Linked DNA regions of Homo sapiens: region 1 is linked to region 2. Evidence: promoter capture Hi-C in human tissues and cell types (Jung and others, 2019). All regions are on one chromosome and are shown on one strand. Each heading gives the region's core, a stretch centred on a gene start or on the middle of the fragment in contact. The rest is flanking DNA. Distances are from core to core; before and after follow the strand shown.

What was found. The method cuts DNA at HindIII sites, captures the fragments that hold promoters and counts their contacts. A contact is called where the count stands out against the background at its distance.
Region 1: a fragment that was not itself captured here is called in contact with the fragment with the promoter of MOCOS in region 2 in 1 of the 25 tissues and cell types used here (heart left ventricle).

What each region holds. Positions count from the first base shown.
Region 1 is chr18:36,231,173-36,236,191 of GRCh38, forward strand. The region is part of intron 9 of MOCOS (molybdenum cofactor sulfurase); the gene reads left to right. Among named protein-coding and RNA genes, the nearest start is that of MOCOS, 46 kb to the left of the region's middle. The HindIII fragment of the contact is 3,959 bases long and covers 634-4,592 here.
Region 2 is chr18:36,185,970-36,191,083 of GRCh38, forward strand. It overlaps MOCOS (molybdenum cofactor sulfurase), which reads left to right and starts at 1,528. Exons shown (of 15, transcript NM_017947.4): 1 at 1,528-1,712. The coding sequence starts at 1,571. COSMOC (cell fate and sterol metabolism associated divergent transcript of MOCOS) reads right to left here and starts at 1,466. Exons shown (of 2, transcript NR_134605.1): 1 at 1,266-1,466. RefSeq lists an enhancer at 1-572 and silencers at 1,332-1,595, 1,441-1,630. The HindIII fragment of the contact is 25,317 bases long and covers 1-5,114 here.

The sequences.
Region 1 (5,019 bases), core at 1,363-3,862, 46 kb after region 2:
ATTTGTTTATCATATTTTTTCCCATAAGCTATTAATATGATGTATTACATTACTAGATTGTCTATAACTGAGCTATATATTTGGTATCTTAAGGAAAAAGTACACTTGGCAATGACTTTCTAATACATTGCTGGGTTTGGTTTGCTAATATTTTAGTGATGTTTGTGTCTGTTTTTATCAGTGAGAGTGATTATAGCCCATTGTTATTAAATTATTCTTGTTCAAGTTCAAGTACCCAGGATATTAACATACATTAATTATTGTTATTTTGAACTGTTACCTATGCATGTTACGCATTCCTTTATATATATGATGTGTATAACATAGAAAAAAGACTAGCTTTCCAACTCTACTGTGACATAGTAAGTTTTTTGTTTGTTTGTTTGTTTTGTTTGTTTGTTTTTTAGCAATAACGATGATTGATGCAGGAATCCAATTTGATGCTAACTCCTAGAGGCTAATGAGATTTGACACTCTATGCTGATATCTTTACAGAATGAGCCTTCATGCTTGTCTGTCTATTTCTAAAGGATTGAAGGTAGCTTAGAGAACAATGACCCACGATGTGGATGATCCAGAAGTACAGAAATCTTTCAAAATAATTTACAGAGTGTCCCTGGGGCCTTGGATGTGATCGCCCCCATTCAGGCTCTTCCATAAAAAACTTGCTCAGTGCACATACTATTGGTGGCACTGATAATGATGAAGAAAGTCTTCATGTTATAAAAAGATTTCTAAGACCCAGGCACTTCCTTGATCCAACCAAATTCTAGTGTCATTAAAATTCTTTTTTTTGTTGTTTTGGTTTTTTTGAGACACGTTCTCACTGTGTCACCCAGGCTGGAGTGCAGTGACACAATCTCAGCTCACTGCAACCTCCATCTCCTGGGCTCAAGCCTCAAGCGATCCTGCTACCTCAGCCTCCGGAGTAGCTGGGACCACAGGCATGTGCCACCACATCCAGCTAATTTTTGATATTTTCAGTAGAGATGGGGTTTTGCCATGTTGCCCAGGCTGGTCTGAAACTCCTGAGCTCAAGCGATCCACCTGCCTCGGCCTCTGAAATTGCTGAGATTCCAGGTATGAGCCACCATGCCTGACCTTAAAATTATTGTATATTTCATAATAATGAGCTTTGATTTACAGTTATTCCTTTTTAATTTTGAACAGATACAGTAATTGTACATATTTATGGTGTACAATGTGATACTTTGATACATGCATACAATATGTAATAATAAAATCAGTGTAATGATCAAATCAGTGTAATTATATAGCATATTCATCACCTCAAATATTTATCATTTCTTTGTGTTGAGGATGTTTAAAATCCTCTTTTCTAGCTATTTTGAAATATTTAATAAATTATTGTTAACCATAGTCACCCTATTGTGCTACAGAATACTAGACCTTATTCCTCCTATATACCTGTAATTTTGTACCCATTAACCAACCTCTCCCTATCCCCTTCTTTATCCTACCCGTCCCTGCTTTTGGTAACTACTATTCTACTCTTTACTTCTATGAGATCAACTTAAAAAATTCCCACATATGAGTGAGAACATGCAGTATTTGTCTTTTTATGCCTGGCTTATTTTACTTAACATAATGTCCTTCAGGCTCATCCATGTTGCTGCAAATAACATAATTTCCTTCTTTTTTATGGCTGAATAATATTCCATTACACACACACACACACACACACACACACACACACCATTTTCTTTATCCATTCATTAATTGATGAACACTTAAGTTGATTCCATAACTTGGCTACTGTGAATAGTGCTGCAATAAAAATGGGAATGCAGATATATCTTAAACATACTGATTTTCCTCTCCTTCGTTATTATTATTATTATCACTTCAATAGTTTTTGGGAAACAGGTGGTGTTTAGGTACATGGGTAAGTTCTTTAGGTGTGATTTCTGAGATTTTGGTGTACTCATCACCCGAGCAGTGTACACTGCACCCAGTTGATAATCTTTTATCTCTCAACTCCCCTCCACCCTTTTCTGCAAGTCTCCAGAGTCCATTATGTCATTCTTATGTCTTTATATCCCCATAGCTTAGTTTCCACTTATAAGAGAGAACATACAATGTTTGTTTTCCATTCCTGAATTACTTCCCTAAAAATAATGGTCTCCAACTCTATCCAGATTGTTGCAAATGCCATTATTTAGTTCCTTTTAATGGCTGAGTAGTATTCCATGGTGTTTGTGTGTTTGTATACCCACATCATATTTTCTTTATCCACGCATTGGCTGATGAGCATTTAGGCTGGTTCCATATTTTTGCAATTGTGAATTGTGCTGCTATAAACATATGTGCACAAGTGTCTTTTTTATATAATGACTTCTTTTCCTCTGGGTAAATACCCAGTAGTAGGGTTGCTGGATCAAATTGTGGTTCTACTTTTAGTTCTTTAAGGAAACTCCATATTGTTTTCCATAGTGGTTTTACTAGTTTACATTCCCACCAGCAGTGTAAAGTGTTCCCTTTTCACCACATCTATGCCAGCATCGATTATTTTTCAATTTTTAAATTATGGTCATTCTTGCAGGAGTAAGGTGGTATTACATTGTGGTTTTGATTTGCATTTCCCTGATAATTAGTAATGATGAGCATTTTCTCATGTTTGTTGGCCATTTGTATATCTTCTTTTGAAAAATTTCCATTCATGTCCTTAGCCCACTTTTTGATGAGATTATTTGGTTTTTGTTGCTGATTTGTTTGAGTTCCTTGTAGAATTCTGGATATTAGTCCTTCGTCAGATGCGTGGTTTGCAAATATTCTCTCTCACTTTGTGGATTGTCTCTTTACTTTTCTGGGTATTTCTTTTGCTGTGCAGAAGCTTTTTAAATTAGGTCCCATCTATTTATCTTTGTTTTAGTTGCATTTACTTTTGGGTTCTTGGTCATGAATTCTTTGCTTACCGCAATATCTAGAAGGGTTTTTCCAATGTTACCTTCTAGGATTTTTATGGTTTCATGTCTTAGATTTAAGTCTTTGATCCATCTTCAGTTGATTTTTGTATAAGGTGAGAGATAAGGATCCATTTTCATGTTTTTACATGTGGCTGGCCAGTTATCCCAGCACCATTTGTTGAATAGGGTGTCCTTTCCCCACTTTGTTTTTGTTTGCTTTGTCGAAGATCAGTTGGCTGTAAGTATTTGGCTTTATTTCTGGGTTCTTTATTCTGTTCCATTGGTCTGTGTGCCTGCTTTAATACCAGTGCCATGCTGTTTTGGTAACAGTAGCCTTGTATTATAGTTTGAAGTTGGGTAATGTGATGCCTTCAGATTTTTCTTTTTGCTTAGTCTTGCTTTGGCTAAGTGGGCTGTTTTTTTGTTTCCATACGGATTTTAGGATCATTTTTTCCTAGTTCTGTGAATAATGATGACGGCATTTTGATGGGAATTGCACTGAATTTGTATATTTCTTTTAACAGCATGGTCATTTTCACAATATTGATTCTAGCCATCCATGAGCATTAGTCCATTTGTATTGTTGTGTTAGCCTGTTTTCACACTGCTATAAAGAAATACCTGAGACTGGGTAATTTATAAAGGAAAGAGGTTCAATTGACTCACAGTTTTAAATGGCCGGGGAAGCCTCAGGAAACTTACAATTATGGTGGAAGGCAAAGGGAAATGAGGACCTTCTTCACATGGTGGCAAGAGAGAGAAGGGCAAAGGAGGAACTTCCAAACATTTATAAAACCATCAGATCTCATAAGAACTTACTCACTATCATGCAAACAGCATGGAGGAAACTGTCCCCATGATCCAATCACCTCCCTCCCTTGATATCTAGGGATCACAACTTGAGATGAGATTTGGATGGGGATACAGAGCCACACCATATTATTCTGCCCCTGGCCCCTCCCAAATCTCATGTCTTTTAACATTTCAAAACCAATCATGCCTTCTCAACAGTACCCCAAAATCAATTTTTTTAAATTTTTTTATTATTATACTTTAAGTTTTAGGGTACATGTGCACATTGTGCAGGTTAGTTACATACGTATACATGTGCCATGCTGGTGTGCTGCACCCACTAACTCATCATCTAGCATTAGGTATATCTCCCAATGCTATCCCTCCCCCCTCCCCCCACCCACAACAGTCCCCAGAGTGTGATGTTCCCCTTCCTGTGTCCATGTGATCTCATTGTTCAATTCCCACCTATGAGTGAGAATATGCGGTGTTTGGTTTTTTGTTCTTGTGATAGTTTACTGAGAATGATGATTTCCAATTTCATCCATGTCCCTACAAAGGACATGAACTCATCATTTTTTATGGCTGCATAGTATTCCATGGTGTATATGTGCCACATTTTCTTAATCCAGTCTATCATTGTTGGACATTTGGGTTGGTTCCAAGTCTTTGCTATTGTGAATAATGCCGCAATAAACATACGTGTGCATGTGTCTTTATAGCAGCATGATTTATAGTCCTTTGGGTATATACCCAGTAATGGGATGGCTGGGTCAAATGGTATTTCTAGTTCTAGATCCTGAGGAATCGCCACACTGACTTCCACAATGGTTGAACTAGTTTACAGTCCCAACAACAGTGTAAAAGTGTTCCTATTTCTCCACATCCTCTCCAGCACCTGTTGTTTCCTGACTTTTTAATGATTGCCATTCTAACTGGTGTGAGGTGGTATCTCATTGTGGTTTTGATTTGCATTTCTCTGATGGCCAGTGATGGTGAGCATTTTTTCATGTGTTTTTTGCCTGTATAAATGTCTTCTTTTGAGACGTGTCTGTTCATGTCCTTCGCCCACTTTTTGATGGGGTTGTTTGTTTTTTTCTTGTAAATTTGTTTGAGTTCATTGTAGATTCTGGATATTAGCCCTTTGTCAGATGAGTAGGTTGTGAAAATTTTCTCCCATTTTGTAGGTTGCCTGTTCACTCTGATGGTAGTTTCTTTTGCTGTGCAGAAGCTCTTTAGTTTAATTAGATCCCATTTGTCAATTTTGGCTTTTGTTGCCATTGCTTTTGGTGGTTTAGAC
Region 2 (5,114 bases), core at 278-2,777:
CTGGACATTCAGCAGTGAGGGAGAGAGCGGGGGTGGTCAGTGGGCAGAGGCCACTGAGGAATATGGGTACCTGGGCATGGACCCTAGCGCTGCAGTCCACAGACCCCTGGGTCTCCGGCCAGGGGGAAATGAGCTCTTAGTGGCGGGTCTTTCTCTGGCCTGGTATCAGGGGCCTGGGCGGGAGAGCCAGGGCTGCGTGCTGCCTTCCCATGGCTCTCACGCTGGGCACCGGTATGCATCATGCATCAGCAAGGATCCTAGGGCATCTGCGGCCCATACCCTGGGTGGCAGCTGGCCTGGATGCAGCACAGGTTGAGCTCTTGGGGCATAGGCCTCCTTCCCACCTTGTCCCCCCGCTGTATGCCTCCAGGGCCTGTGGGCCGCCTGCACCTGGTCGCCGGCCTTGGGTTCTCCACCGAGCCTGCCTCTGAGTTATCTCCCCTGAGCCCCAGCACCTGCCGCCCATCCGCACTGTCCACCATCCCTGACATTCGATTCCCCCACGAGGCACCTCGCCTGTGCGTGCAGTACCTGTTTTGCTTCCACCCCATTCCCAGCAGCGGGTTCCGCACCTGGGATCGCACGTGAGATTTCCCCCCACCCCCCAACCGCATGCCTGGGCTCTACTACCTGCACCTGCCGCCCCACCCCTGCATCCCGCTCCGCACTTCCCGCGCATAGGTTTGGCCAGGCCCTCCCTATTGAGGCACCTGTTCTCCAAGACAGAGCCGCTGTGTCCCAGGTGCTCTGGGTGCAGGCGCGAGTGGGGATTGAAGGAGGCGCTCTTATTCCACTCTGTCCGGGACAGGGGCGGCTTTGTCCTAGGGCACTCTTGCTTTAATAGAGAGGGCCCGGCCACACCCACGTGCGGGAAGTGCGGGGCGGGATGCAGGGTTGGGGAGGCAAGGGCAGGAAGTAGGGCCCAGGACGCGGTTGGGAGGGCGGGGAAGCTCAGCTCACTTGGATCCCAGCTGCAGGGCCCGCTCCGGGGGAAGCCCCCGAGCTTCCCGGTTCCGAAAGTGTGCAGCCACTGAGAATTTATTAGCCTCGTGGATCCCTAATCTTTCCCCTTTTCTACCCTTTGGTCAGCCGCATTCTAACAAACGGCAAGCACACGCCCCGCTGGGTAGCAGCAACCCGAGAACGCCCCCACCCCCGCCCCCGCCAGACGCCGGTTCCCGCTTGAGAGGGTGAGGGTCCCGAGACCCCTGCGAGGAGGAGGGTCGCGGGGTTCCAGGATGCCGATGCCAAGCAGGAAAGATCACCTCGTTGCTTCTTCCACCGGCCTCTCCGCGAGACATAGCTAAACTTGAACTTGGCATTCCAAGGGTCTGGAAACATCTTCGTGGGACCCATCGAGAGGTTGTTTAAAGACTGGCACCCGCTCCCGCGCCCAGGTGGGGAAAGGGCTGGCCAGAAGTGAAAGTCCGGTCGGGGCGCCACACCTAGGCTGCGGATTCCGAGAGACTGGGAGGCTGGAGGCCTGGGAGGCGTGGCGGGGGCGGAGTCGCCGGGGGCCGGCTTCGCGCACTTCCCGGGCCCGGCCGGCCTGGATGGACTAGCCGGGGCCATGGCCGGCGCGGCGGCGGAGTCAGGGCGGGAGCTGTGGACCTTCGCGGGTTCCCGGGACCCGAGCGCACCGCGGCTAGCCTACGGCTACGGCCCGGGCAGCCTGCGCGAGCTGCGGGCGCGCGAGTTCAGCCGCCTGGCAGGTGAGGCGGGCGGGCAGGCTTGGGGGACACGAGGTTTCTGGAACCGACGTGGACGGATCTTTTGCTCCTAGTGAGAGCGGCGCTACCTCATTCGGGCGCATTTTGAATCGAAACTCCAGGAGGGACGTGTCCACGCGTCCTCCTAGTAGACACGGCTCCCTGAGGTCCCACCTGCAGCCCCAAGGCTTCTTGCTACTCTTACTCTTCCGACTTTCCGGTGGGCAGGACCAACCTAGCCGTCTTCCCCTTTTCCCGCCCTCCGCGAGCGGGGCTTAGGATGGTTCTTGCCCTCTCTTGCGGGAGACCCCTCACTGTAAAGGGCCTGCTGGGGCCGGGGTTGCAAAAGACAGCATGTCCAGCGGCCGTGACCCTTCGGATGTCCTCCCGAGGTAGGAGCGGTGCGTGGACCGCCAGCGCCCGGGCTGGGACAGCACCTCTGACGGCGCGCCAGGTTGGGACCGGGAGGCCAAGGCCTCTTGGCCGGGGCCTCCCGAGGCTGCGCTCTGCAGACTCCTCTGGGATAGCCTGTATTCAGCTTTGATTTTCGAAACCTCATTTTCCTTACTCTTACAGCGTCAGAACAATCCCTCTGAGCTCCAGTTCTCTGGGGGACTAGAAGAATTAGCAAACAGTGCAATTTCACCTTTAAGAACAGGGCGAGCCTGTGAATTAGACAACACCAAGATCACATCGTGCCTTTCCTCAGAGCGGAACAGGCTGATGAAATTGCAAATCAAGCTCCATCTGGCCTTGGCCGACCCAGCCCTCTGCTGCCAGGGCCCAAGTTCGTGACTCATCCCTCTGCCAGGGACTTTGGGTGCAGGGCTTCATCAAGCCCCAGGGCCGCGTGCCGGATGGTCAAGGAGGGTGTGCAGGTGAAGTGGGCACGTCTTGGCACAGGGCACCGGGGTTTGAGTGTATCTGCTCTGTCGCGATGAACAACTGGTGACTGCTCCCCTTCTGGGGGCAGAACAGCAACCATGACTTAGGTTTCACTACTCGGGTAGCTGATTTCAGCGCTTCGGGTCACTTCCTGGTGTTGTGGAGGGTAACTGTGTTTTCCCTTTGGGGGCTGTGAGAACTGTGGCCTCCTCCTGTGTGTCTCCTCTGGCTTCCTAAGTAGGGAGAGTCAGGAGGGAGACGGGGGTGCCTTCTGCCAACCTCTCTATTCACTCCTCATCCTTCCCTCTCGCAGGGTCACCTGCTGGAGACAGCTCCTCACCCTTCTTTCGTATTCTCTCTCTCTCTCTCTCTCTCAACTATTAATTATGGAAATTTCCTACCACTCAGAAATAGAGGGGTACTATGAATGCCTACAGGTGCTGGGGAGGGAGGCTCTCCATTCTTTGAAGCAACTCTTCAAGGCTACCTGAGTAATTATATCAGCACCGCACCTCCTTAATCCCCTAAATCTCCTCCAGCTGTGATCTCTCACGCCCACTATTGGCCAACCTCTCCCCTCAATGCTACCCTGGGAAAGTAGAGCTATGTTCTGGTCCCCTCCTGGTTTCACTCTTGTCCCTCAGAGAACAGTACTTTTCCCCTCAAATGCAAAATTGGGATGTGTCAGCCAGGCTGGCCCTCAGAACTCGTTACCACTTACTGTATGTCTGGTAGTGTTGTGGGCATCTTTTATTTAATGCAAGTTCCTTGTATTTCCTCTACATTACGGTTAAAGCAGACATTTGTGCACTAATCTGACGCCCCTCCCACTGCTGGGAGTCTTGGAACATGTCCACTTGTTTTTCTCCTAGAAACAAGACAGAGAGAGGGCGGGAAAAAACAAACCAAAATAACATCACCTCTTCCTCGTTCCTCCTCTCCCCTCATGAAGTTTTTCTGCCAATTTGAGAATTACTCTGGTTAAGTGGTGGCTCAGAATAATTAAATGCTTAAGATTTAAGTGCTGAAATGTGTTACCTAAAGATTTGGATGGGAACTTCCTTGCCTTTGTGAAGGGAGAGTATTGAATATACGGATGTGTGTCAAGGGTCTCTGGAAGCCTTCGTGCTGAATCATGACCACTCACCATGCTGGAAAGAGAACTGGAGGGGGATGACCTAGAGCTGACCCTGGAATTCTCTTTCCTGAAGAAGGTCTGATGCCATTTAACTTTGGGGTAATTCACCTGTTTCTAATAACAGCTACACCTGTGTCCCGAGCATTGGACTGGATGCTGCCATATAGCAGCTCATTTAACCTTTGTCCCATCTGCAGATGAAAGAACAGGGGCCCAGAATGGCTACTGGTGGAGCCAGGATTCAAGTCTGGGTTGATTGACTTGGATTTTGTACTGTTAACCCCTATGCTGCCTGACTTTCTCCTAACATCACATCTATGGGTGATTTAACACAGCTTTCCCACCCTTTTGTTTTTCCTGCAAAATTAACCATTGGACCAAAAGCCAAAGCATCTTCTTCTCCAATAGCTACTTGGCCCTCCAGAAGACTGTGGCACAGTGTGAGATGCTCCCCAGCAGCTTCCAGGTCTCACCTGTGGCCTTGATGCCTGGGTGAACAAAAGCCTTTCTTTTGGTTTGGTACCTTTGTATTTCTGAATCTTTAGTAAAAGCGAACATTGTTTTAAAAGTATCTTTTTGGACTAGCTCATACATTTGATATGGTTTGGCTCTGTGTCCCCACCTAAATCTCGTGTTGAATTGTAATTCCCAGTGTTGGGGGAGGGACCTGGTAGGAGGTGATTGGATCAAGGGGGTGGATTTCCCCCTTGCAGTTCTCGTGAGGGTGCGTTCTCACAAGATCCGGTTGTTTAAAGTGTGTAGCACAAACTGGGTATGGTGGCTCAAGCCTGTAATCCTAGCACTTGGGAGGCTGAGGTGGGCAGATCACTTGAGCCCAGGAGTTCAAGACCAGCCTGGGCAACATGGTGAAACCCCGTCTCTACAAAATATACAAAAATTAGGCAGGCATGGTAGCTCATGCCTAAAGTCCCAGCTACTGTGGAGGCTGAGGTGGGAGAATTGCTTGAGCCTGGAAAGTCAGAGCTGCAGTGAGCTGAGATTGCACCACTTCACTCCAGTCTGGGCAACAGAGTGAGACCCTGTCTCAAAAAAAACAAAAAAACAAAACAAAACAAAAAAACTTTCTTTGGCCAGGTGCAGTGGCTCATACCTGTAATCCCAGCACTTTGGGAGGCCAGCCTGGCCAACATGGCAAAACCCAGTCTCTACTAAAAATATAAAAAAATTAGCCCGGTGTGGTGGCACATGCCTGTAATCCCAGCTATTTGGGAGGCTGAACCTGGGAGGTGGAGGTTGCAGTGAGCCAAGATTGAGCCCCTGCACTCTAGCCTGGGTGGCAGAGCAAGACCCTATCTCTCAAAAAAAAAAAGAAAAAGAAAAAAAAGTGTGTAGCACCTGCCCCTTCACAAGCACCTTCTCTC